Linked DNA regions of Homo sapiens: regions 2, 3, 4, 5, 6 and 7 are each linked to region 1. Evidence: promoter capture Hi-C in 16 types of primary human blood cells and fetal thymus (Javierre and others, 2016). All regions are on one chromosome and are shown on one strand. Each heading gives the region's core, a stretch centred on a gene start or on the middle of the fragment in contact. The rest is flanking DNA. Distances are from core to core; before and after follow the strand shown.

Region 1 (3,597 bases), core at 387-2,886:
CTTGAGCAGGCTGGATTTCTCTTGTTTAATTATCAGCTTGGAGCTTTCTGAGGACTCTTAGGAATTGTTCATTCAGTTTTCCACCCCCAGCAGATCTGCCTTCTAAAAGTCCTGCTTCCTCTTGGTGCTAGCGTCCCCTCTGGCATAACATGCAATCACAGGTGGGCCACGCAGCAAGCAGCGAGTGTGTGCTAATCATGTCCCCTAGTGGGAATTTAATTGTTCTGTACTGAGAGAGAGATTGCAGCAAGACTTTAGACACCATTTCCTGGCAAATAATCTTTTGCCTCTCCCCCTCTCCCCTAAAAAAAATTCTAGAAAAGTTTTCTAAAAGTGAGAAAAGAAATTTTAAAGATAAACAGACATATTTTTTAGGATTGAGTTGGGCTTTTGTTTTGCTTTGTTTCATTTCTTCCTGTAAACAAATACTCAGATGTCCATTTCATTGTATGACTAAGTTGGTATCATTAGGTTGGAACTGGGTGTGTGTATGTGGGTGTGTGTGTGGGTGGATGTGTGTGCACACGTGTATTTAAAATGTTAGAAAAGACATTGCAGGTCGAAGGAGAAATGATTTTAAAAAAACCTACCTATGGTAAGGCAAGCAGGAAAAATGGAAGACCTGGATTTCAATGATCTAAATAATAATTGAAATGGGGTGTTTGCTATAAACATTGTTTCTCTGAATTAAAGGATTCCTTGCTGAAGGCACAAGACCATTGAAGGAAGTAAAGCATCTGGTTTGTTTTGTAATGAGAAGCAGGAATGCAAGGTCCACGCTCTTAATAATAAACAAACAGGACATTGTATGCCATCATCACAGGATGTCCTTCCTTCAACAGAGGACTGACTGGGCTGGAGGAAAAGCTGGCCGGGGCTCAGAATAAGCCCCACTAATTACTGCCTCCGACCGCTTTCCACTTGCAGTGATCAGTTCAATATTCCTCTGAACTGTGAAACGACTAATGCTCTACATTTTACTTACACTCCTGGGAAGTCAGCCTGTGGGTTCTGGGAGGAGAGGAAAGGAAAACAAACAATCTGTAGAATTATAACTTTTGCCTATTTCCCTATTTACTAAATAGTTAAAAGAGGAAAGTTAGTTCTGCCAAGTTTGAACGTTAGCAGGAGAAACGGAATGTTACAACTTTTGGGGCGGGGGGCGGGGAAACGTGCGTTACATACACAACAGCTTGAGGACCAGACAGCTCCACTGTATTACACTAGCTGCAAAAACAATTTAACTTGCTCTTTTGAAGTAAGATTTGTGTCTTTTGTACCTGGGGATTTGAGCTGAGAAATCAGAAACTGTGTAGGTAAATTTTAAGTTTCCTTAATTTAAGGAACGTGCGCCCCCTAATTCTGCCGCGCCAGGAAGGAGGGCGATCTGGAGTGTTTAGAATACAATAGAGCCCAAGTAAGCGTTGAGGTTAAGTGCCTTCAAAGGGAAGTAAGAAGATTCCAAGTCAATGTTGAAATACACATGCGAAGAGAGGAAGCTCTCGGCGGCTGTGCTAGCAATCTGGGGGAAAGCCCTGGGCTCGGCCAGGTGGTGTTGGCCACGTTGGCCACGCCCCCACTTCGCGCAGCCGAGTGGCTAAGGAAATCTTAAGCAGGGAGGGGAAGCCAGACGGTTAACACAGACAAAGTGCTGCCGTGACACTCGGCCCTCCAGTGTTGCGGAGAGGCAAGAGCAGCGACCGCGGCACCTGTCCGCCCGGAGCTGGGACGCGGGCGCCCGGGCGGCCGGACGAAGCGAGGAGGGACCGCCGAGGTGCGCGTCTGTGCGGCTCAGCCTGGCGGGGGACGCGGGGAGAATGTGGACTGGGTAGAGATGAACGAGACTTTTCTCAGATGTTGGATATTTGCTTGGAAAAACGTGTGGGTACGACCTTGGTAAGGAACTTGAATTTTTTTTTTTTAATTCTGAAATTGATCTGAAAACTTTATTTTCTTTTCCTTTATTGTTATTATTATTAATTTTTTTTGGCTAATGTCGCAGTAGAAACATGCTTCTGCTTTAGTGCACTTAGTGCTGTCAAACATTTGTGAGACTTTCCTTATGAATCATTAACCCTTTCAGTTCTAGACATAATTGCCAATTCATTGAAATTTCAGTAGTGGTTCCAGCTCACACTCGTCAAACTATTCCGGGTTGGCTGAAGTTTTCTATTTTATTTTATTTTTAACATGTGTTTGGCGTCATGACTCTACATGTTGGAACTAAATAAAAATAAGCAGGTTTGCTTAAATCATAACTGAGGGAAAAACAACTTTGCATCCAACTTTTTTTTTTTTAAGAGCATCCTATTTAGAGAAGTGGAAGAATGTAAAAACCTCCTTGAAGGACTTCCACAGAATGTTATGTTTACATTTGAACAAACACACATTCTTACATGGAAATGATACCCATATTCCTCATTTTTATCAAACATGTCTATATGAGAAAACCCTTACAGAAGTTGTTTACCTTTTTTTGCCTTTGGAAAACAGTTTTTTTCTGAGTGTGAGGGAGGATTTTGGGGGAATATCCTCATCAATGTACAAGTGGAAGCAGAGCTTGTCCTCCAAGTCTTCTAAATTTGTTATAACTTTAGTTACAGTAAACTGTAGTACATCAGTGACTTCTGGGAATTCATACACTTTCAGATTTAAATGGAAAGTGCTATTTGTAGCTGAGGACTCCTAAAGGAATTCTCTCCAGGGAATTTTATTAAACGGTTTTATGTTTTGTTTTTGCCTTTTCAATTTGGTATGAGATGCTTGCAAGTCAGAAGACACTGCAGGCTGTTTTCCCCTTCACCCATTTTTCCTCCTCTTTTCCTGTGGTCCAAGTGATTTCTAAGAGGCCGTAGCTCAGTGATGCTGGCAGGATGCAACCCTTTTCAGTCTTCCATGTGAGAGGATGAAAGAGAGCTCGCAGCAGAGGGAGGAGGCAGTTGTTTTGAAAGTTGTTTTGCGTTGGGAGCTGGTGGGAAAGTTCGGTCTTCCCCATTTGGAAAAGGCAGGCTGGGTTCCGCTCCTGCACCACACGCGCTTTCCATTTTTAGCTTCATTCAGAGGCAGACAGAGCTCCTTCCTCTTCCTCTCCTTGTTTGTGACACTTTTCTGAGGCAGCTTTTCCACAGTGCCGAGGGTCTGGCGGCCATGACCCCAGGCATTCTGGGACACTGGACTGTGTGCCCAGAACATTTTTCTGCCATGAGAGGTAAAGCCAGGGATTGTTCAGAGGTGATTCTTTTTTTTTTTTTCCTTTTCCCCACAGTGAGGTTGCCACATTCTTTTTTTTTTTTTTTTTTTTAACTAAGAGTAGCATTTAAAAACCTTGCTTCTTTTCAAGGCAGTTTACTTTATACGGCTTCTTGGCTCTTTCTCAACTGTACCAAGCACTCTGCATCTGCTTTTAAAGTCTTCAGACTACTGTATTAGTCATAGCCTCTCAGAAGGAGCCACAGGAACGGCGGGACAATGGGGATTAAAGGCCTTTCCTTTCTCTTCCAGGCTGCCCCCAAGTGTAACTCCAGCACTGTGAGGTTTCAGGGATTGGCAGAGGGGACCAAGGGGACCATGAAAATGGACATGGAGGATGCGGATATG
Region 2 (3,597 bases), core at 717-3,216, 500 kb before region 1:
CTACACTTTTTAATGTTCAAAGGTCTCTGAATGCATGAATTTCTTCCTATTTTATATTTTTTTAGTTGAGAATTTTTAACACTGGGGAAGTGTTTTTGACTATTCTTAAATAGTGCTGAATTTTCCTTAGAAGTATTAATTTTTAAAAGAAAAATATTTTTTATTATTGTCAAAACTATAATATATGATCAATACTAATTAGTCAACATGAATGTTAAGGTTCTTCAGTCTCAAAAAAGGCTTATGCTGTTAATATATGATAGCTACCATTGCAAAGTACTTTATAGATATTAGCTCAATTTATCTTCACATCAACCCAACAAGGTAGATAATATTAACATTATTTTATCTATTTTAAAAATATTTGATACATCTGGGACAAAAAACAGTGAAATAATTTTCTCAAAGTTATACAACTAATTAGTAACAGAGCTGGGATCCAGTATTATGCAATGTATTCCCTTTTAATGTAATGAGACCTGAGCTTTTTTCCCCCTTGTTAGATGTGTTAGACAATTATTTTTTCAAGTTTACATAACTGACAGATTAATCAATTAAACAAATGTGGGAGAAATAAAACCCCACATATTCAGGTAAGCATGAACACCTCGGGTTACAAGACTTTAATTTCAGATTCCAAACTCTATTATTCTCAATCCTTCTAGTATCTTCACCCCAATCCTTTTAATACTCAAGAATGCAGTGGACATTGCTTAGAAATTTAAGACAATGCCATGAGGACAGGGGCTTTTTGTAAGACCACTGCTGGCCAGTGTGGCTAGATGAATCTTGTAGCCATTTTTCTTGGAGGGTTTGCCACATCCTCGGAATTGCTGCCTTGCATGCATGACCTGGGTCCACACTACTCCTGGACCTGCAGACCTCTTTTTGTTTTCTCCCTGCATTTCTCACCCCATCTCTCTTAGCTGGAGGCAGTGAAATGGAGGCCTGGCCATCACTTGCTCTCCCCACCTCTCCAGTTGCTCCGTCTATATTTAGGAATCCCATTCATGTACCTACCAAACTTACTCCATTCACCTAAGTGTTTAGGCCTTTAGAGAATAAAACCACAACCACTGGTGCTCTACTGCTGCCTTACACCTGGCCCCAACCCTTCCCTGAGCCCATCAAGTTTGGAGCTAGCTGCTTTCTTGAATGGAAGAAAATGAGGGGTGAGGATAATGCCAGAGACAATATAAGTCAATATCTCAAAAGATAATCAAATCTCACAAACATTTAGGAAGTATGAGAACTGTCTTAAATCTGAGGGGCCATGGGAATGGGGTGGAGGGTGCGAAAAAATAAAAAAAATTGTGTCTGTTTCTAGGAGCTCATAATCTATTAATAGTTGGGATAAAAAAAAATAAACATCTATGAAACTGTCAGAAAACAATGCCAAACTCGAGATCCCGCCACTGCACTCCAGCCTGGGCAACAGAGCGAGACTTCGTCTCAAAAAAAAAAAAAAAAAAAAAAAAGAAAACAATGCCAAACTTTGCAACAGAAATTCAGAGAGGAGAATTATAAAGAGCTGAAATCACAGGAATATTAAAGTATTTTAACAATACCTACTGCCAAATTAATTAGATACTCCCACTGCAATTCAAAAATATTTACTAAGTATGTGCTATATACCAAGCACTCTAGTGAGTCTAGAAACACGAAGAGGAAGCACAGTTTTACCCTACAGGCAGAGAGGGTGATGATGACGAGGGTGATGATGTGGAAGAGAAGAGGGTAAGACATTGGAAAATGCATTTTAAAGGTTGTAGTTTTGAGCTGGGTTTTAAAGAAAGAGTGGAATTTTGCAGTGGAATTATGATGAGAGAAAACACTATGTGCAAAGGCAATGATAGAATTGATCCAGTTTTGAGCCATTCCTTTTCCATCAAGCTTGGGATTGAGTCTTGTTAGTAAAATCAGACAGCATTTGTGGAGAGAAGGGGTGTTTTCATCACATACACCTTGGTTAGAGACCTGTATATAAGACATGAAGGAATACAAAGCGATCCTTTGAGGATGAGACTTGAAACAGAGACCAAAGCTTGCAAAACCATCTACATTATGACTGAAGCAGACAAATGATTTAAGGTCAAAATTGTGTAATACTTATTTGTTTGAATCCCTGTGTTTCAAGATAGGATCATGGTCAGGTTGATGAAACAGTAACTCTGCAAAGGCCCTAAAGGGCTAAAGAAGAGACCACCGACTATTCCAGCAAGTTTGGAAGAATCCATGCTAAGATCATCTTATAGACTAATTCCAGCCCCCGGGCCCTACCAGTAGCCTACTCTTAGCTCCCCTCCCACTTTTTTTTTTTTTTTTCCAACAAATTCCCTGGTTCTTTTGTTTTGTATTTTCCCTTGCTGCAACAGGTTAAATCAGTCTCACTTTTTTCCCTCCACACTACCGGTGTGTTCCTGATGGTCTCTGGACAGAGGGTTTTATTAAATGAGGTCTCATCAAGATTCATCTGAAACCCTTGCTGCTATGGACCAGGACTTGCTGATATCCACAGCTGAGAGCCTTTGAGTCTCCGCTTCCTTGAGGCTACTTAGAAGCCAAGTCTCACTACCAATATGAGCTCCAAATATTTTGTCGAGCCGTTTAGCACTAATTTATTGTGTTTGTCTCATGGATGAAATCTCCCAGGACTTTTTGTTTGCTTTCTCATATTTGTACTTGTTCTCTTGAAGCTGTGCCAAAGTATTAATTAGCCACTAGTCCGCCTATTTACTGTCTGTGTATGGACCTCCACAAGCACAGGGGCTCTTGTCCTTTTGTTGGGGATGAACATTTGTTGAATCATTTGGCACGACAGAACCTAGTAGTAGAATGTCACACTCTGGAAATCATACATTTTTGGCAACATGGCCAAAACAGTAAGACCAGGATCATTATGGAAGTTTGAAACATTTTCCATGTGCCCCACAATCAATTGAAATTTCTTTCTCTTCACTGGAGAAAGCCAGCTACCATGTGATGAGGACACTCAAATGGCCCCAGGAAGAGGCTCATGTAGCGACGAGCCTCCTGCCAACAACCAGCATTAACTTGCTCGTCCTGCAAGTGGCTGCTATGAAAGCAGATCCTGAAGCCTCAGTCCAACCTTTAGATGAGCTGCAACATCATCTGAGAGACAACATCTCAACTGCAACCTCCTGAGAGACACCAACCAGAACAGTCTAGCTAAGCCACTCCCAAATTTCTAACCTACAGTACTCCGTCTGAGAAAATAAATGTTCGTTTGCTTTAAGCCACCAAGTTTGTGTAACTTGTTATACAGCAACAGATAACTAATACAGCAGGTAGCTAATACCAGGACAGATCCCTAATACATTCGATAGCTAGCGTCACGTAGCCTTTTCATTTAATTTGGACATGAATGGCATATCTTTGCCAGAGTCCGTAGAATTGGTCCCATATCTGCTTATTATTAAGGTAATGGTTTGGGAAGCACCACAACCATTGGTCAGGAGTGTCTGCTAATCACCTAGAATCTTGAACCAGCAGAAAGCTGAGGCCTTGTACTGCTTCTTCTAGAAGAGTCCATTTCTGATGATAGCTGGAGCCAGGATAATTATAGGAAGAAGCAGG
Region 3 (3,597 bases), core at 572-3,071, 480 kb before region 1:
AGAAGACTTTTGATCATAATTTTGGGGTTAATAGAAATTAAAATCAATATATGGTAGCTTTGAGTAAGAGACAAAACCTATCTACTGGAGAGACTTCAAAGGTCAACGGATCCCAGAAAGGCTCTAACTTATTAGAGACATTTATCATGCATTGCCTTTGGGACATTAAAATGTCACCCTCAGGATTTATGGTTTTTGCAAAATGTGTACAATTTCTGTGGGGAATTTTTCTTATCCCAAAGGACAGGGATAATAGAAAGGAAGCCTTTTATTAGGGCTTACTTTTAAAATGTTCTGAAAGCACTAAAGAGTCAGGATGACTGTTGTCCAGCTGGCTACAGGCAGTTGGCACATAAATCACAAGGAATTGGCCATAGTGAGACTCTGCACAGAACAGCTTGCACAAATTGGCAACTGATCATTCCCTCTCCTTTATTTCTGTATAAACTGTTTACAGAAAACTATGCGGCAGAGTGTCTGAGAATAGTGACTTTCTAATCCCTAGTAATTCCTAGGAAATGTAATTGTAGGAACAAATTTCATAAAGTATCTTCAGTCTTACATAAATCTGTGTAAATCACAGATCCCTTTAAATGCCGTTTGGATAGCAGAGCTCTAGCTGGAACTGCAACCTGACTTCCCTCTGGAGCTTCCTGAAGGCAGCTTGCTGATTCCCTGGTGGAACCCTTGCCTTCCCAGACTGACCAACCCTTGCCAACAGCCATCAGTTCTTTCCAGATAATTCGGGACAATGTCACCCCCTTTGCTGTGTCAAGAACTTGCCCCTTGAATTTTAAAAGCATCTGCCTTTCATAAGAAAACTCAATTTTCTGCTGCTGACTTATTTACACACAGAGTTGCAGATGCCTAAATTGAAGTGACTTGTTGCTATTCTTGGCTGTGAACAGGCTCTCTCTGTTGAAAACTGAAAACCTGTGTGGTGGATGGCACGAGTCCTGTTGAATGGTGCAAACGTCCCCTGCACAAAAGCACTATTAGGATGAATGAGAAATGACAAAGTGAGAACTGGACATAATTTGTTAACAGCTTCCGAAGTTGATGAGGATCAATGAAGATCCTCTTGGAATGCAGGGTATCCATGTTCTTCTTTCAACTTGCACATCATAATAAAATAATAGTTTGTGTTTGTACAAATGTATAAAATAAGTAAGTATCATGTTAAAGACATAGATCTGTGAACACAGAGCTGGTAAAGTTTTCTTTCTGCTGTTCACATGGGGAAAATCAGATGGCCCAATGTAGAAATGGACACTGAATTTGGTTGTCATCCAAATGGGTCCATGTCACTCTTCAAAATGTATCTCCAGTCCTGCCCCCTTCTCCATTTGTGCTGTCACTGACCCACCCTAGGCCTCTAGGATCTCTCACCTGGATGATGTCTGTACCCTGCTAAATTGTCCCTCTCATTGGCTTCCATTAATTTATCTTTTTGGACCATTGTCAAATTGTGATCCATATATTACCCATACCTATTATGTCATTCCCGTTTATAACCTTTTGGAGTTTTTTCTCACCTTACAGAATGAAGTCCAACTAAGACTCTCAGTGTCACCTCTGCCTGTTGCTCCAGGCTCAGTCCCACGCTTCTGTGGGCATCCTATGCTAATAGGTTTGCATTCCTCATGCTAAATGATCTCTGTCACCTCTGTGCCTTCGTTTCTGTTGCCCTCTCTACCTGAGACATTTTCCCCTTTCTCTTGGCTGGCCTAACTATTGATTATCCATTAAAATTCAACTCCTATACTGCCTTCTCCAAACATCCTTCCCTGGCACACTGTCCATCAGGGTAGGTAAGCTGCCCAGCCCCTTGTGGGCCCCCTAGTCCTGCAGGCTTTGCTCTCACTGCACTTGAATATTGGAGCATAGTAACTGCAATGTTTGGAGTGTTTTTCTCCCCTGCAAAGTTCACATCTAACCCCCAAATTGATGATATTAAGAGGTAAGGCCTTTGAGAGGTGATTAGGTCATGAAGCCTCCAACCTCATTAATGGAATTAGTGTCTTTATAAAAGAGGCCCAAGGGGACTTGTTCACCCCTTCGGCCATCTGTGAGTTGGAGAGCTAGCCCTCAAGAGACACTGAATCTGGTGACAACTTGATTTTGGACTTCCCAGCCTCCAGAACTGTGGAGATAAATTTCTGTTGTTTATGAATTATCTGACCTAAGATACTTTGTTATAGCAATCTCAATGAACTAAGACAGTAATCTAATTATGCATCCTCTGGTCTATGACATGCTTGAACACATAAACTGTAACTTATTCATTGTTGTGTTCTCACCCAAATACAGCACCACATCTGACATATAGTTGGTACCTCATAAATGTCTGATGAATGAATAAATGAGGCTGGATAGGCAACATGAGGTAAAAGAAGAGTTTATATTTTCATACTAGGTTTATGGGGTTTATAGTAGGTTTTAGATAAGATTTATGGTAGGTTTTACATAAGTTTATATAAGGCTTATAAGAAATATATGCTTATTTATAAATAAGTAGAATAATTAAAAATAATTTATAGAGCTTAAAAACACATTAGAGAGCATCTAGTCCTATGCTTTTCTTTTACAAATGGGCAACCAGAAGCCCAGAGAAGTTATGACCTGTCCAAGGCCCCACAGTAAGGTAATAACCTCTGAACAGATCCACATATAGTATTTGTGGGGCCCACTGTATGAATTGAGGTCTGTACAATATATGCTTTAATATTTATGTTCAAGTAAAGAATATCACGATTCCCTAATGGCACATTTAACCATACATATGTACAAATTAAAGAACACAAAGTGCTTAATATTGTAAACTGTTCCTCAGCCGCCATGTGAAACTAAGGTAAATACCACACTAACTCTTAAATATTTCTGGAACCACCAATTCAAAGTTGAAGAGGAGCAAGAAAATTGCAGCTCAGCACTACTGGGAAGTGATACTTGGTTTTGCGATTTGAAAGGACTTGACAAGTTAATTAATTTGTCTTTTTCTTTACCAAAGTGCTCCTGCGACCTAATACTCCCCATATCCCAAAGCATCGCCCATCTCAGCTGTCAGCAGTGGCACAGCCTGCAAGACTTCATGGCATTTGGTCACAGTCCTTCTGTCCTGATGACATCAGGCGAAAGAAGTGCCACAGTGTTTCCCTGGGGCCTGAAGAGTATTAATCACACAGTCAGATGTTGGGCTGTGTGATACCAGGACTGAGTATCCATTTGTTGGTTAATAAGTGTGTGTGCTTATGATATGGGAAGTCCTCTAAAGCCAAGGGCCCAGGGCAAGAGTCCCTCTTGCCTCACTCTATGAGCAATATTAAATGGGAAAGAAATTCATACACAGTAACTATCAAGCTCGCCATTAAAATGCCCTATTAAGGTATTATCTGAGAATTTAGAAGAAGGTAATAGTGCCTTAGGGTACCTAATACAGGTTTTTTTACATTCTTATGGCATTGCATTTAGGATCATCTAAAGTATAAAGGCCTAAGGGGAAAGAACAAGAAACTGGGAATTTGCAGTCCTGGATTGTTTTCTTAAATCTACTAATTACCTACTGGGTAACTTTGAGAAAACACAACCTGTTAATGG
Region 4 (3,597 bases), core at 387-2,886, 460 kb before region 1:
TTAAAAAACTTGGGTGTTTTTGTTTTTCATGTGAAAAATATCTTAGAGTCTACATGAGGATCTTTCTGGACTTTATGTAAATATTTTATAATATTATATATTAGTCAGGATCCTGGCAAGAACAAAATCCACCCCAGAAGTTTCCATAAAGACAGTTTGATAAATGCCTACTTACAGGTTACAAGCAGGTTAAAGAAACAAACAAGGGATGTTGAGGCACCCAGAGACTAGCGACAGTGGGAAGCTGTTCTTGTACTTCGGCCTAAAGAACAAGAGGAGGAAATAGTGCTGCTTGAATCCAGTGTAAGCTAGTAGAGGCTACAGCCACTGTCAGAGACCCACCCAGGGAAGGTAGGAGCCCTGGAAGAAATACTCTGATTGCTATCTCCTTCCACCCCGATCTCCTGCTGGTGCTGCTCATTGGACAAATTTCAATGTAAGCCAGTGTCACGGGACCCTGGGTAACAAAGCCTATAGGGTTCAGCTTCCCAGGACAGACCAGCAGGGAGAAAGGCCAAATATTAATCTGTTTAGCATAGTACTCTTTATACTCAATGATCTTGTTCAAAATTATGTCATTATTTGCCAGGGCTTATGATAAATTTGCAGCCCATTATCCTGGCGCTTTCTCTTTATCCTGACCTCCTTTGTGACTCTGTGATCTGCACATATATTCTCGGTCCTGAACAGTTTTCTCTGTGCAATGCTAACTCTTCTCTGTTGAGATTAATCCCGATCTCCATATCAACTAAATAAATTTTAAAGTTATGAAAACTGTGAAAGTCCTTCTTCACTCTCATGAAATTTTAAATTCATAATCTCTTGGCTTGGCATAGTTTCATTACTTCAAGGACATTAAAACATTTTACTTTCATTATCTCATAGATTTTTTTACCATATCTCTCTTGGGTAGGCATCTTGGTATAGTACCTAGTACAGTGATACATGAAAATAGACGTTTAATAAATGCTTGCTAAAGGGATGATCACCATCAAATGCCCCTTATGCAGATACGGGAGCTCATGCTGAAAAGTTAAGCAACCTGGCCAATATCTCGTGATGTGCCAATAGGGATATAAACCAAGTCAGAGGGCTTACCCTGAATATGCTCTCTCCAAACTGAGATTTTGCTAAGCAGGGCAGGAATTTGAAGAAGGGTTCATTTTCTTCCTGTACTTTGACCCAATGTTAACAACAGTTGAGATAGACAGGGCATGGTTTTTCAACTGATTTGTTTACTAGATTGTCAAAGAAATATATGCCCATTACTTTTTCTTAATCATTAGACATGAAATGTCATCAACAGGAACAAAAAGTTGAGCTATACACGTATAGGAATTGAACTGAACTGTGATGGTTTTTTATTTCCGGGATGAGTAAAAGGAAAAATAAAGTGGGGATTTAAACCTAAGATTTACCTGGAAATCAGTTACAGACAGCTTTTTCTTATCAATGGAAATAAAGGACAGGAAGGAGCTGAAAAAGTAAATGTTTACAGTTTTATCTCCACAGCTGTTATAAACTCATCTTCAACCAAACCTCCCACTGTGTTCCAAAGTTCTCAATGATGATTTTTCTTGCATGTCACTGTCTTACTAAATATCTGGTGGAGGATTCATATAGAGAAGGAAAAGCTGAGGGACCTGGATTCACTGCCCGCCAGATCAAATCTTTGTGGAATAATACCAATCAGGTAGATTAAGTTTTGTAAATAGGGTAAGTCATCCATTGCCATGAAAACATTTGCAGATGAGGTGGGTCTGTATTTTTGGAAGCACCCTCGGTGCCTTCCTTTGGAGAGTGTGCTACCAGCCGACATAATTTGTAGATGGTGTCTTGTGTGCACAGCTTCGTGGTGGGTGTGATATTATAAGAGAAACCAACTGAGACCACCGTTTTCAGAATCACATTGATTTTAAATCAGTTATACCCAGTTTCTAAATAACTTATGTTCTTTGACTGGGTATTATCTTTATTTTCTTCCTCTTTCTCTTCATACTCAGAATCACATGGAATCCTATTTCCTACATAGGAAATATTCCTGTCTCTTGAATGTGACCTTTATCCTCACCATCTCCTTTGCTTAAACCGGGTTACTATCTACCAGTTCTCATGTGGGCCATCACAGGCCATATTCTTAATTAGCCTCTCTCTCTCCACATTCCCACCTCAACCTCCTTCACAAGGCAAACATCTTTGTTGTTTAAAAATACAAATATATTCAAGTCCACCATTGCTAGCTTAAAATGCTTCAGAGGTTTCCCATGGCCTTGAAATTCAAACCTTAACATCATTCTCTTCATGCTTTTTAGCTTTCCCTCACACTATTCTGTACCTCAAATTCCCTTTTGTCCGCAAAATAAAGCCCAAAACTCAAGGCCTGTCATAATCTGATCACAGCCTGTTTCTTCAGCTTCATTTTGTACTACTCTCTTCTTTACCATCTATATCCAGGGGTGAAATCATTGAGGCTCCAGGGAAATATCTTTGTGGCATGTGAGTAAGAGGAAATTATAGAAGACATTAGTTACAACTGAGCTACCAAACTAGATAATACACTTCCTAAAACTGATGATATTGAAAGGGCCAAAGCTAAACATTCTTTCTAGGAAGATGTTATTTACCAAATTAATGATGAATTTCCTTAAAGCCTTATTTGAATCTTCCAATATTCTTTGTTTTTCCAAAACACAAAAACTAATCTACAAACTACTCTAGATGGGTTGAGAATGAAGTGAAATAAAACCCGAGTCAGATAGCAAACTTAATTGTGGGGCTACATTCCATCCAGAGAAGAATAATAAAAACTAGCAACAAAATTTCTTGGAACTAACATTTCAGGTCTCTGCCACTTCAGATGACCCCTTTATCTTTCATAGACAGATAAGACATTATTGCAAAAAGGAGGACGCTTTGTCTTCCAGATGGAACCCTAAGAACTAAGGTCCTGCTTGCCAAAGAATCATGGCTCAACATGTTGAGTAACCAAGACTTCTTATCTCTTATCTCTTCTCCAAAGATAGTACTTTTATTGCTACAATTTATGCAAAAACTTTCAGGCTAAAATATATATGTGCATATACTTATATGCGTGCATATGTATATATGTATAAAGATAGAGACTCAAGGGAAAATATTGATAGAGAAAGAGATAGATAGATAGATAGATATAAATGGAAATTTAATATGGAAGGTCAACTATTAAATGACTTGTCTATACCCAGCCTTTGCCACATTATTCTAAGCATAGGGAATAAAGGACAAGGTTCTGTTCCTAGGAAAGTTTACAATATTTGATGGAAGTTGGGCCTGAGGGAAGGAGAAGCATTATGGGCAAATGTTGGAGGGGGTGAGGTGGGGAGGTGGCTCAGATTTGCCAACTGCCTACTATGAACAGATGCTGTGATTAGATCTGTTATATGAGGGTATCTCATTTAATTCTTACCAAATCAGTGCATGAAAGTGATATCTCTGTTTTCCAGATGAGGAAACTGAGGGTTGGAGGAAGAGCCCAATGAAAGGGCAGTCCCATTGAGTAGCTGTCAGAGAATCGTTTAAAAGAGACTTAAGACATTTTGCAATTAATCAGGAATGTGG
Region 5 (3,597 bases), core at 314-2,813, 450 kb after region 1:
GGTAGTTACCAGCCTGTCACAGCTTACAATTTATGACAGGTTTGTGTCATGGTGAGCATCTTCTTTTCTGGCTGTTCATTTCTGTTGAACACTGCCTCAGATGTTAATTCAAAGTTTGGGCTCGTTGAACTTGGTTGGTGAGCTTAGACACCAGGTCATTAGTGCTTTTATAGATCTCAAAGGAAAGTCTCAAGGGGTTGAGAAGATGTCACTGATAGTAAGTACTGAAGCTCATTTTGCTTCTGTTGATGCACTGGTTCCCCTGAACTGGGATAAGAAGTCTTTGCTGTAGAGGGAACTCCTTAAGAATCCATTAGGTGATTTATTCCAGGGCCCATTCACTCTAGATTAAGCTCTTCTACTCATACACAAAATAAGGGTGTTACTTGTCTGGTCAAATTCTTGTTTGAGGAAATGAGTGATTTCTAACTAAACTTGCCTTTCAGATTCTGTTGAGAGTAATTTGTTTTTAAATCTTTCTTTTAAGCAGCTGGCTAATCCTGGCACCCATCCTCCCAGAGGTGAAAGCATATTGGGTTTTTTGGGGGCGGGGTGTGTGTAGGGGTGGAAGTGGGGGGTGGTATATTTATGACGAACAAAAGCAAAGAAGTTTAGAACTTCAAAGGGAGTATAAAGATGATCTGGCCCAACACCATCATTTGACTGAGGAAGACAAGCTTTGGTCACTTTCTCCAGACTAGGGTTAGCTGTTAGCAGAATGTGTACTAGAATGCAGGTGTTCTAAAGTCAAGGGACTTCTTTTTTAATTGACAAACATTATTTGATCATTTGTACTGTGTAATATTTGACATATACAGAATAATATATGTATATATGTGAACTATGAAGCCCAATAATAAAACAATCCCCCGTGGACCCACCATCCAACTTACAACCTAGACCATTACCAACATTGCTGCCCACCGTGGTTACACATGTAACCACACTCCTAAGATTACTCATATTGATGGGTACATCTCTATGTATTTTTTTCATTGCTGTGTAATAGTCACTGTATATTTCATTGTGGAATATACCATATCAGAGCCCAATTTTTTATTATAAAAGTTTTCAAACATACAGAAAAGTAGGAAGAATAGTTCAGTGAACACCAATGTACCATTCACTTTGACCCAATAATTGTTATCATTTTACCATATTTGTGTTATTTTTCTGAGCACTTCAATGTACATTGGAGATATCATGACCCTTCATTCCACATAGGATTCAGCCTGACTCTCTTTCTAATGGTATTCCCCTGCATAAGTATCATTATTACACTTGAGAAAATTCACAAAGTGTCCATGATAATATCTGTTCAATAGTCCATCACCAAATTTTCCCAATTGCTTCAGGAATGTCTCTTATAGATTTGCATTTTCAAATCAGGATCCAATCAAGGTTCACATAAATGCGTTTGATTGTTCTGTCTCTTTTAAGTCTCTTTTTAAAGATCTCTAAAATACCCCATCTTTGTTTCCCAAGCCACTAACTTTTTTTTTTTTTTTTTTTTTTTTTTTTTTTTTTTTTTGAGACGGAGTCTCGCTCTGTCGCCCAGGCCGGACTGCGGACTGCAGTGGCGCAATCTCGGCTCACTGCAAGCTCCGCTTCCCGGGTTCACGCCATTCTCCTGCCTCAGCCTCCCGAGTAGCTGGGACTACAGGCGCCCGCCACCGCGCCCGGCTAATTTTTTGTATTTTTAGTAGAGACGGGGTTTCACCTTGTTAGCCAGGATGGTCTCGATCTCCTGACCTCATGATCCACCCGCCTCGGCCTCCCAAAGTGCTGGGATTACAGGCGTGAGCCACTAACTTTTAAAAAGATTTAGGCCAGCTGTCTTAGAGAGTGTGCCACATTCTAGATTTGTCTGAGTGTTCCCTCATGCTACTATTTAGCATGTTCTTCTGTTGCCCGAATTTCCTATCTACTAGGGCTTAGGTCTTAAGGTATGGTTAGGTTCAGGCCAAACAGTTTTGGCACGGATACTTCATATAGATAGTGCCATATATTTATGTTGTATCACAGCAGGTGGCATGTGCTAACTAGCTTGCCCTTTAGCAATACCAAGTTTGATTGCTTGGTTAAAGTGGTGCCTCCTCCATCTTTCCATTGTAAAGGTTCATTTTCCCCTTTGACATTCATAGCCCCCTCTCTTGTGAATAACCTCAAAGTCAGTACCTTCATATTTAATTTTTCAAGTATCCAGTTGGTTTCTGTGAATGGCCAATATTCATGTACAGCCATGTCTAGGGAACACAACTTAAGATCCATCTGGAAGTGCTGTTTTTGTTTAAGAGCAAGTGAACAAGATAAGACTGATTTTTCTTGTGTGACTCAAAGGGTATTTCTAAAAGAGTAATTGGACAAATATTTTAAATAAACATATAGATGGCCATTGTTATTACTTTAACAATATTCATTTGTAGGTATACATTTGTTTGTTTAAAAAATAAGCTTGGGCTTTATAATCATACTGTTTGTTAAGTACGACAATAAAGTTGTACTTTTTAATCTATATTGGCGAAAGCTTATGACCCAAGTACATGGGAAAATAAAAGATTACCTTTAGAAACTGAAATAACCCTGCCTGGAGATAGTTTCCCCCTCTCCTGATGGCCTCATAAATAATGTATCTTATTGGAACAGAATTTAGAAAAAGTGAATCATACTCTGCATATGAGTTTTCAAATTCAAAGTCCACCCAGCATTAATAAATGTCTGTTTGAATTACCCAGCAGGCCTTCAGCACTCATTTACTAAGGGAGAACTTTCAGAACAGCAGTCTTTTCAAATGCATTCATTCATGTTTTCGGTTTTTTCACAAATTCCCCTCTACCCAGAATGACTTTCCTTCCATGAATGTTATGCAACTAAACCACATGCTTCAACAGAAGTGAAATGTTTAGTATTAGATGAATAAATCCCCTCTGAACTCAAGCTATAGAAGGAAAGACTTAATGAAAAGGGTACTTCGGTAAGAATCATTTCAAAATCTCAGATCGCTTGCTCGTGAGCCGTACATTCAGTTTTTGAAAAATTAAACCTGTTCACTTGTAAAGAAGTCAGACTTGGGACCTGCTTGGTTAGCCTAATACCATAATGTGTTACAGAACTGCCATTATTTTGTTAGAGAACAAAATCCATGGGTACTGTGCCTGTGATAGCTTTGAGCTCCAAAATACATGTAACGTATCCTTGGCTGTCATGCTTTAAACATAAGGAAGTGTAAAGTACCCTATTCTTAGCGTCTGTTTTCTTGTGGTTTAGAAGCATTACAGTAGTATTTAAAAGATAAGCCTCTTTTTTTCCTTAAGGTAACTTTTTTTGAAGCATAACATTTGTACAAAAAGGTACATAAACCCTAAATATATAAGCTGAGTGAATTTTCACAAAGTGAATACACAAGCGCAGTCACCATTCAGATCAAGAAAAAGAACATTCCCAGCATCGCAGAAACCCGTTTCTTTCATGCGTCCTCACGCCCTCTTCCCCAGGAACCATCATCCTGACTTCTAACACTGTAGTTCTGACCTCCTACCCATATCCCACACCTGGCCTCCCAACATTCTTTCATGTGTGTGTTGTCAAATCATCAGT
Region 6 (3,597 bases), core at 486-2,985, 400 kb before region 1:
GAGGCTAAGGGAGGCAGACGGCTTGAGCTCAGGAGTTTGAGACCAGCCTGGGCAACATGGTGAAATCCTGTCTCTACAAAAAATTCAAAAATTAGCCAGGCATGCTGGCACACATCTGTAGTCCCAGATACTCAGGAGGCAGAGGAGGATCACTTGAGCCCCAGAAGTTGAGGCTTCAGTGGGCCGAGATGATGCCACTGCCCTCAAGCCTGAGTGACAGAGTGAGATGCTGTCTCAAACAAACAAACAGACAGACAAACAAACTGGAGACATTACTGATTTGAAAGAATCCAGTGACATCAAGTTGAAAGCAAGAACAGGAAATATTGACTTGTGGAGTTGAAGGTGAAGGTCAATATTTCTGGGAAACCAAGACAGGAACACAGAGAGAAGTAGTCACAGTCTAATCAGTCAGTCTTGTTTATAGGTGTTGCTGTGTTATATATAGAGAGAATATTATGGAAATCTGAAGAGTCGTCCTCTTAAATCTTCACCTGGATAATGATTAGCACATGCTCTTGAGGAAACTATTCAAGGCTAGAGAAAGAACCACCCAAAATGACTGGAGAGAACATTCATTGAAGATTACACAAGACCAGGAATAGTTTCTGTTCTCATTATTCAGAATGAAAAACCTCATAATCCTAGGAGCATCAGCTAGAATACTCAGAAGGATTGGATAAGAGCCCTAAAATAAATGCTGCCATGATCCCATGTAACAAAGCTTAAGTGCAAGATCCTAAAATATTCAAACTGTTCCAGGTAACTTAATTGTGTCCCAGAAGAAAGTTCAAGGATATTTACAGAAGTACAAAGATATCCAGCACATAGAAAAGTAAAATTCACAATGTCTAACTGTGATCAATAATTGTCAAGCATATAAACAGGAAAATATTACTCATAATAAAGAGAAAAATAAATCAATTGAAACTGACCCAGAAATTATACAGATAATACAATTAGTAAACAAAAACACTGAAGCAGTGAATTACAAACTTTTTTTTGTCAAAGAAGCTAGAGAAAAGAGCGAGAATGTTAAGTAGAAATATGGAAGAGCCTAAATCAAAATTCTAGAAATGAAAATATATTTATGAGATGAAAAATATATTAGATGGGATTAACATAAGATTAGACACTGCAGAAAGAAAAGATTGGTGGACTTGACAATAGAAGTTATCCAAAATGAAACACAAGGAGCAAAACTCTGGGGCAAAAAAGGGCATCAGCCAAATATAGATACAACTGGAGTCCCAGAAGGAGATGAGGAGGAAGGTAGGAAAAGAATTTTGAGAAATGGTTGAAATGTTCAAACTTTGATGAAATTTTCAAACTCACAAATCCAAGAATCCCCACACACAGGAAACATGAGTAAAGTTATAAAGGACATCATAATCAAATTACTTAAAACCAGTGAAAAAAAGTAAATATTAAATGTACTCAGAGAAAAAAAAAAAAGGCAAGTAGTCTTGTTAAAAAAAAAAAAAAAAAAAAGCGAGCCAGAAGATAGTAGAGAAACATCTTTAAAGTATTGAAAGAAAAGACAATCAACCAGCTGGGTGCGGTGGCTCACGCCTGTAATCCCAGCACTTTGGGAGGCCGAGGCGGGCGGATCACGAGGTCAGGAGATCGAGACCATCCTGGCTAACACGGTGAAACCCCGTCTCTACTAAAAATACAAAAAATTAGCCGGGCGTGGTGGTGGGCGCCTGTAATCCCAGCTACTCGGGAGGCTGAGGCAGGAGAATGGCATGAACCCAAGAGGCGGAGCTTGCAGTGAGCCGGGATAGCGCCACTGCAGTCCAGCTTGGGCGAAAGAGTGAGACTCCGTCTCAAAAAAAAAAAAAAAAAGAAAAAAAGAAAAGACAATCAACCTAGAATTCTGAACCCAGTGAAAATTTTTCAAAAATAATGTGGGAAATAAACCCCACTTTTTCACATCTACAAAGCAAAAAGAGTTAATCACCAGCAGACATGTACTACACAAAATATTAAAAGAAAGTCATTTAGGCAGAACAAAAGAGGATAAAAGATGGAAATCTGGTTCTACCAAAAAGAATGATGATTATTGGAAATGGTATCCATGTGGCTAAATATAAAAGACTTGTTCATTGCTTAAATCTCTTTGAAAGATAATTGTTTAAAGCAAAATAATAACAATATATTAAAGGGTTTAAAAGATAACATATTCTAAACGTTTCTGCACCTAAAAACAGAGGTTTAAAACACATGAAGCAAAAACTGATAGGACTTCCAAAAGAGATAGACAAATCCACAGTGATAGTCATAGATTTCTCCTGACCTTCTCTCAATAACTAGTAGAACAAAGTGGCAAAAAATCAGTAAGAATATAGAAGATTTGAACAACGCCATCAACAAAATGATCTGACATTTATACAACACTACACCTAACAACAGCAGATACATATTTATTTCCTTAAGTGTAGAATATTTATTAAGATAGATCATATTTTGGGGAATAAGGCAAGTTTTACTAAATTTAAGAGGATTCCAATCAGTCATACAAATAATGTTTTCTGACTACTATGGGGTTGAATTAGAAATCAATAAAAGAAAGATATCTGAAATATCCTCAAATATTTGGAGTCTAAATATACATTTATGCAAGTGTATTGCCTATTCAAAAATTAATATGAAGTTTTGTTTTTAAAGAAATGAGGTCAATTACCTTACACAGCTGACAAATAGTTGTTAAGGTGATTTCAAAGAGACATTCGTCAAAATATTCTAAGCTTTATTTGAATAGATATGTGTTCTCTCAAGAGTACCACCTTGAAGGAGAATAGTCTTTTGGGTGTATAAATTTGGTTAGTTTGCTAGAAAACCAGACTTAGTCCTATATAGGTCACACACTACCTATACAAAAACCCACAAAAGTTATTGAAAAAACAAAATTAATACTCTAGCAACAGACTTGCCACCAGAGCTGATATTCTTTTTTGTTTTATTTTGTTTTTGTTTTCCTTTTTTTAAATTTTATTATTATTATTATACTTTAAGTTTTAGGGTACATGTGCACAATGTGCAGGTTAGTTACATATGTATACATGTGCCATGCTGGTGTGCTGCACCCATTAAGTCGTCATTTAGCATTAGGTATATCTCCTAAATCTATCCCTCCTCCATCCCCCCACCCCACAACAGTCCCCAGAGTGTGATGTTCCCCTTCCTGTGTCCATGTGTTCTCATTGTTCAGTTCCCACCTATGAGTGAGAATATGCGGTGTTTGGTTTTTTGTTCTTGTGATAGTTTACTGAGAATGATGATTTCCAATTTCATCCATGTCCCTACAAAGGACATGAACTCATCATTTTTTATGGCTGCATAGTATTCCATGGTGTATATGTGCCACATTTTCTTAATCCAGTCTATCATTGTTGGACATTTGGGTTGGTTCCAAGTCTTTGCTATTGTGAATAGTGCCACAATAAACATACGTGTGCATGTGTCTTTATAGCAGCATGATTTATAGTCCTCTGGGTATATACCCAGTAATGGGATGGCTGGGTCAAATGGTATTTCTAGTTCTAGATCCCTGAGGAATCGCCACACTGTCTTCCACAATGGTTGAACTAGTTT
Region 7 (3,597 bases), core at 342-2,841, 370 kb before region 1:
GCATATAATAGGTGTTCAATATATATTTGTCAGTGACCATATAAATTAGTTATTAATAAGTAACTTCTGGGAAAAACATCTGGCTGGGAAAAACCATCATAATGATTTATGCTACTGACATAGCCAGACACCATCAAACTACTCTTTGTTCTTCAGTTACTTGTGTGACTGGTAATCTGCTAGGTCACCTTGCCTTTCAAGAGGCAAATAAGTCAGCTCAAACCATTATCACATATGGGCTGGGAAACCCAATATCCATCCCAAACTCTCCTGAGAATCTTTGAGAAATTTTGACTTTTTGCTCATCACTGATGGTTGTGTACTCTCAATTCCACTAGGTTAGTTTTCCCTGTGAAGCATATTGCCACGTTCTGCACACTCTCCTTCTCCTATGCTATGTGGTATTGCACAGGACACAAGATTGATTTCTTTCTACCCTCAAAGTACTAGCAATGCAGGACAGTATGTGCGGCAAACTTTTTCTAAGGCTTGGGATAGTAGAGTGAGCTTACATCATAGACCCACAAACAACTTGAAATGGACTAGTAGACAGCCTTGTTTTAAAATGTCCCTCAGACACACTGACACTGGGAATCTCAACAGTTGCTATTTCTCACTAGATATTTTTCTCATGAGTTCCAGTCTCCTGACTAATGGGTCAGTCCTCCCTTCCTTGACTCATCTTCTCCACCCTCCTCCTTTCAAACGCCTATTAACTTTACATGTAAATAATTTCAATTTTCTGGATTGATCTATTGTAAAGCATCTAACTGATCTCCCATCTTCCATCCTCCCTATCCTAGAGTCTATTGGTCATACAATAGCCAGCTACAACGTAATCTTAAAACATAAGTCTGACTGTGTCACTCTCCTGCTCCAAACCCTCCACTAGCGTCTCACCTAAAATAAAATGCAAACTCCTTGCCACAGCCTGCAAGGTCTTACATGCTCTGGCTCCCATTTGCCTCTCTGACCTCATCATCTTCCACTCTGCTCTACCTGCCCTAGTTTGCTTGTTATTCTTTAAATACAGTAAGCTCATTCTACTTCAGGGCCTTTATCCTTGCTATTCCCCCGTGTATATTCTTTATGTTTCTTCTCTCTGTCATCATTCAGTGTCTGCTCAAATGTCACCTTCTCAAAAGGGCTATCACTGAATTAGCTATCTATAGTTGCTCTCCCTTCCCTTCATTTCCTCCAGAGCTCTTACCACCATCAGAAATCTTGTTATTTATTTTAAAAATGATTTGTTTGTTGCCTGTCTCCCTTTATTAGAATCGAAGTGTCATGAGGGTAGAGAATGTCTTGTCTTCTTCACTTGTATATCTCAGGGCCTACAAATGTAGAAACAGAACCTGGTAAACATAAGCATTCCCTATATATTTGTTCAGTGAATAAATGAATGAGTGAAGTAATATTTTTATGTCACTCTCTCCTTACTGAACTTGTAGTTAAAACTTTAACTTCTACATTCAAAGGGGCCAATAAATTGGATTCACTAAAAAAAAAATCTATTTCGAATACAAATTATGTAATTGCATTAGGAGTCAGCCATGGCTAGAATCAATTACTGCTTTAAAAAAATATTTTCTCTCTCTTGCACATGAAAGGATAGATACACAAAAACTTAGAGATACAAAAAGTAATCAAATATATTGAATAAGACATATAATTTATTTAAACATGCATGTCTTTAAAGGTTGCCCTATATATATACATCTTTTAAATATATGTGCGTATTTTAATGACATTATATATATAGGTTTGAATAAGTAATTGTATTCTTAATGAAACAGAAAAGGGCATTTTAATGGAAATATATGTTAATCTGTCTCATTAGCAAAAAAACAAAATCCAACACTATTTAAAGTAATAAAACAAAACCTGGAAGTAAAAATCATAAAATTCAAAATGTATGGCATCCAATAAAATATTATCAGGCATACAAAACAAAAACCAAGACCCATAATCAGAAGATAAACTAATCAAATTGAAATATATCCAGAAACGACAGAACTACCCCACAAAAATGTTAGACAGCTATTATAATGTGCTCCAAATGTTCAAGAAGGTAGAGAAAAGTACAATCATAGTGAGGAGAAACATAAGATATTTAAAAAGATTCAGATGAGTCCGGGTGTGGCAGCTCACACCTGTAATCCCAGCACTTTGGGAGGCCCAGGAGGGTGGATCATCTGAGGTGAGGAGTTCAAGACCAGCCTGGCCAACATGGTGAAACCCTGTCTGTACTAAAAATATAAAAATTAGCCAGGCATGGTGGTGGGCACCTGTAATCTCAGCTACTCAGGAGGCTGAGGCAGGAGAATTGCTTGAATCGGGAGGCAGAGTTCGCAGTGAGCTGGAAGTTGAGATTGCACCACTGCACTCCAGCCTGGGCAACAAGAGTGAAACTTAGTCTCAAAAGAAAAAAAAAAAAAAGATTCAGATGAAATTGTAAAGATGGAAAATGCAATATGTTAAATGAAAAATCCATCAGATGAAATCAAAGACAAATTCAATACTGCAGAAAAGAAAAAAAAATCAGTGAACTTGAAGACAAGCAATACAGACTGTTCAACATGAAGGACAAAAAAAAACACAAAAAACCACAGGGAAAAAAATGAATAGAGCAACAATCATCTGAGGGACAATGTTAAGAAGTATAATGTATGTGTTAATGGAGTTCCAGAAGGGGAGAACACAAAAGTTTAATTCTTTTGAAATGATTGAAAATTTTTCACATTTGATGAAAACTGGAAACAAGTTCAAGAACTCAGCAAACCCCAAGCAGAATAAATATAAAGAAAAACACACCAAGACACATAATAATAAAAAAAGATAACCAGTGATAAAGGGAAAATCCTAAAAGAATCTGGATGGAGGGGGTCCAGAAGACACACTACAAACAGAGAAACAAAAATGAGAAATACAGCAGACTGCTTCAAAAGCTATGGAAGCCAGAGACAATGGAAAGACATCTAACCGCACAGGAAAACAAAAAAAAAGAAAACCCAAATATATCAACCTAGAATTCTGTATTTAGCAAAAAGACCTGAGAGAATGTTACTAGATTTACTGCTCTATATGAATGTTAGAGAAAGTTCTTTACATCAAAAGAAATTATATCAGATGTTAATTTAAATCAATACAAATGAATGAAGAGCTCTGGAGATGGTAAAAATATGCATAAATAGAAAACATTTTTTATCAGTTTGAAACTTCTTTAAAAAGAATTAACTAAAGCAAAACTAATGAATTGTCAAGTTTATAATATAGATAAAAGTAAAATGTATGACAACAATAACACAAAAGTGGGGAAATAGAAGCATTGTTATGAGTCTTACACTATACATGAATTGAAGGTAGACAGTAATAAGCTTAAAAATGTATATTGTAAACCCTGAAGTAACCACTAAAATAGTGAAATAAAGTGGTTACTTTATCATAATATAGCTAATAACACAATAGCAGAGAAAAAATGGAAATTAAATAAAAACTAAACTCCACAAAATTTGGAGAAATAAGGAAAAAACAGAACAAAGAGAAGAAATGACAGAAGAAAAAATATGTTAAATTTAAACTCAAACATATTGATAA

What was found. The method cuts DNA at HindIII sites, captures the fragments that hold promoters and counts their contacts. A CHiCAGO score of 5 or more calls a contact.
Region 2: a fragment that was not itself captured here is called in contact with the fragment with the promoter of PRDM1 in region 1 in 2 of 17 cell types (M1 macrophages and M0 macrophages); the score reaches 5.9 in M1 macrophages.
Region 3: a fragment that was not itself captured here is called in contact with the fragment with the promoter of PRDM1 in region 1 in 4 of 17 cell types (M0 macrophages, M1 macrophages, monocytes and 1 more); the score reaches 9.3 in M0 macrophages.
Region 4: a fragment that was not itself captured here is called in contact with the fragment with the promoter of PRDM1 in region 1 in 1 of 17 cell types (M0 macrophages); the score reaches 5.4 in M0 macrophages.
Region 5: a contact is called between a fragment that was not itself captured here and the fragment with the promoter of PRDM1 in region 1, in 1 of 17 cell types (activated CD4 T cells). The highest score is 6.3, in activated CD4 T cells.
Region 6: a contact is called between a fragment that was not itself captured here and the fragment with the promoter of PRDM1 in region 1, in 1 of 17 cell types (monocytes). The highest score is 6.8, in monocytes.
Region 7: a contact is called between a fragment that was not itself captured here and the fragment with the promoter of PRDM1 in region 1, in 7 of 17 cell types (activated CD4 T cells, M0 macrophages, monocytes and 4 more). The highest score is 8.3, in activated CD4 T cells.

What each region holds. Positions count from the first base shown.
Region 1 is chr6:106,084,700-106,088,296 of GRCh38, forward strand. PRDM1 (PR/SET domain 1) reads left to right here and starts at 1,637. Exons shown (of 7, transcript NM_001198.4): 1 at 1,637-1,896; 2 at 3,502-3,597. The coding sequence starts at 1,855. RefSeq lists enhancers at 18-87, 1,265-1,984. The HindIII fragment of the contact is 5,820 bases long and covers 1-3,597 here.
Region 2 is chr6:105,580,803-105,584,399 of GRCh38, forward strand. No RefSeq gene overlaps it. Among named protein-coding and RNA genes, the nearest start is that of LINC02836, 50 kb to the right of the region's middle. The HindIII fragment of the contact is 151 bases long and covers 1,892-2,042 here.
Region 3 is chr6:105,603,805-105,607,401 of GRCh38, forward strand. No RefSeq gene overlaps it. Among named protein-coding and RNA genes, the nearest start is that of LINC02836, 27 kb to the right of the region's middle. The HindIII fragment of the contact is 4,818 bases long and covers 1-3,597 here.
Region 4 is chr6:105,621,313-105,624,909 of GRCh38, forward strand. LINC02836 (long intergenic non-protein coding RNA 2836) reads right to left here. Exons shown (of 6, transcript XR_942833.3): 3 at 1,419-1,476; 4 at 176-262. Among named protein-coding and RNA genes, the nearest start is that of LINC02836, 9.2 kb to the right of the region's middle. The HindIII fragment of the contact is 4,504 bases long and covers 1-3,597 here.
Region 5 is chr6:106,534,265-106,537,861 of GRCh38, forward strand. All of the region lies in intron 8 of CRYBG1 (crystallin beta-gamma domain containing 1), which reads left to right. Among named protein-coding and RNA genes, the nearest start is that of RTN4IP1, 93 kb to the right of the region's middle. The HindIII fragment of the contact is 1,777 bases long and covers 676-2,452 here.
Region 6 is chr6:105,680,670-105,684,266 of GRCh38, forward strand. No RefSeq gene overlaps it. Among named protein-coding and RNA genes, the nearest start is that of LINC02836, 50 kb to the left of the region's middle. The HindIII fragment of the contact is 2,026 bases long and covers 723-2,748 here.
Region 7 is chr6:105,710,784-105,714,380 of GRCh38, forward strand. No RefSeq gene overlaps it. Among named protein-coding and RNA genes, the nearest start is that of LINC02836, 80 kb to the left of the region's middle. The HindIII fragment of the contact is 3,567 bases long and covers 1-3,375 here.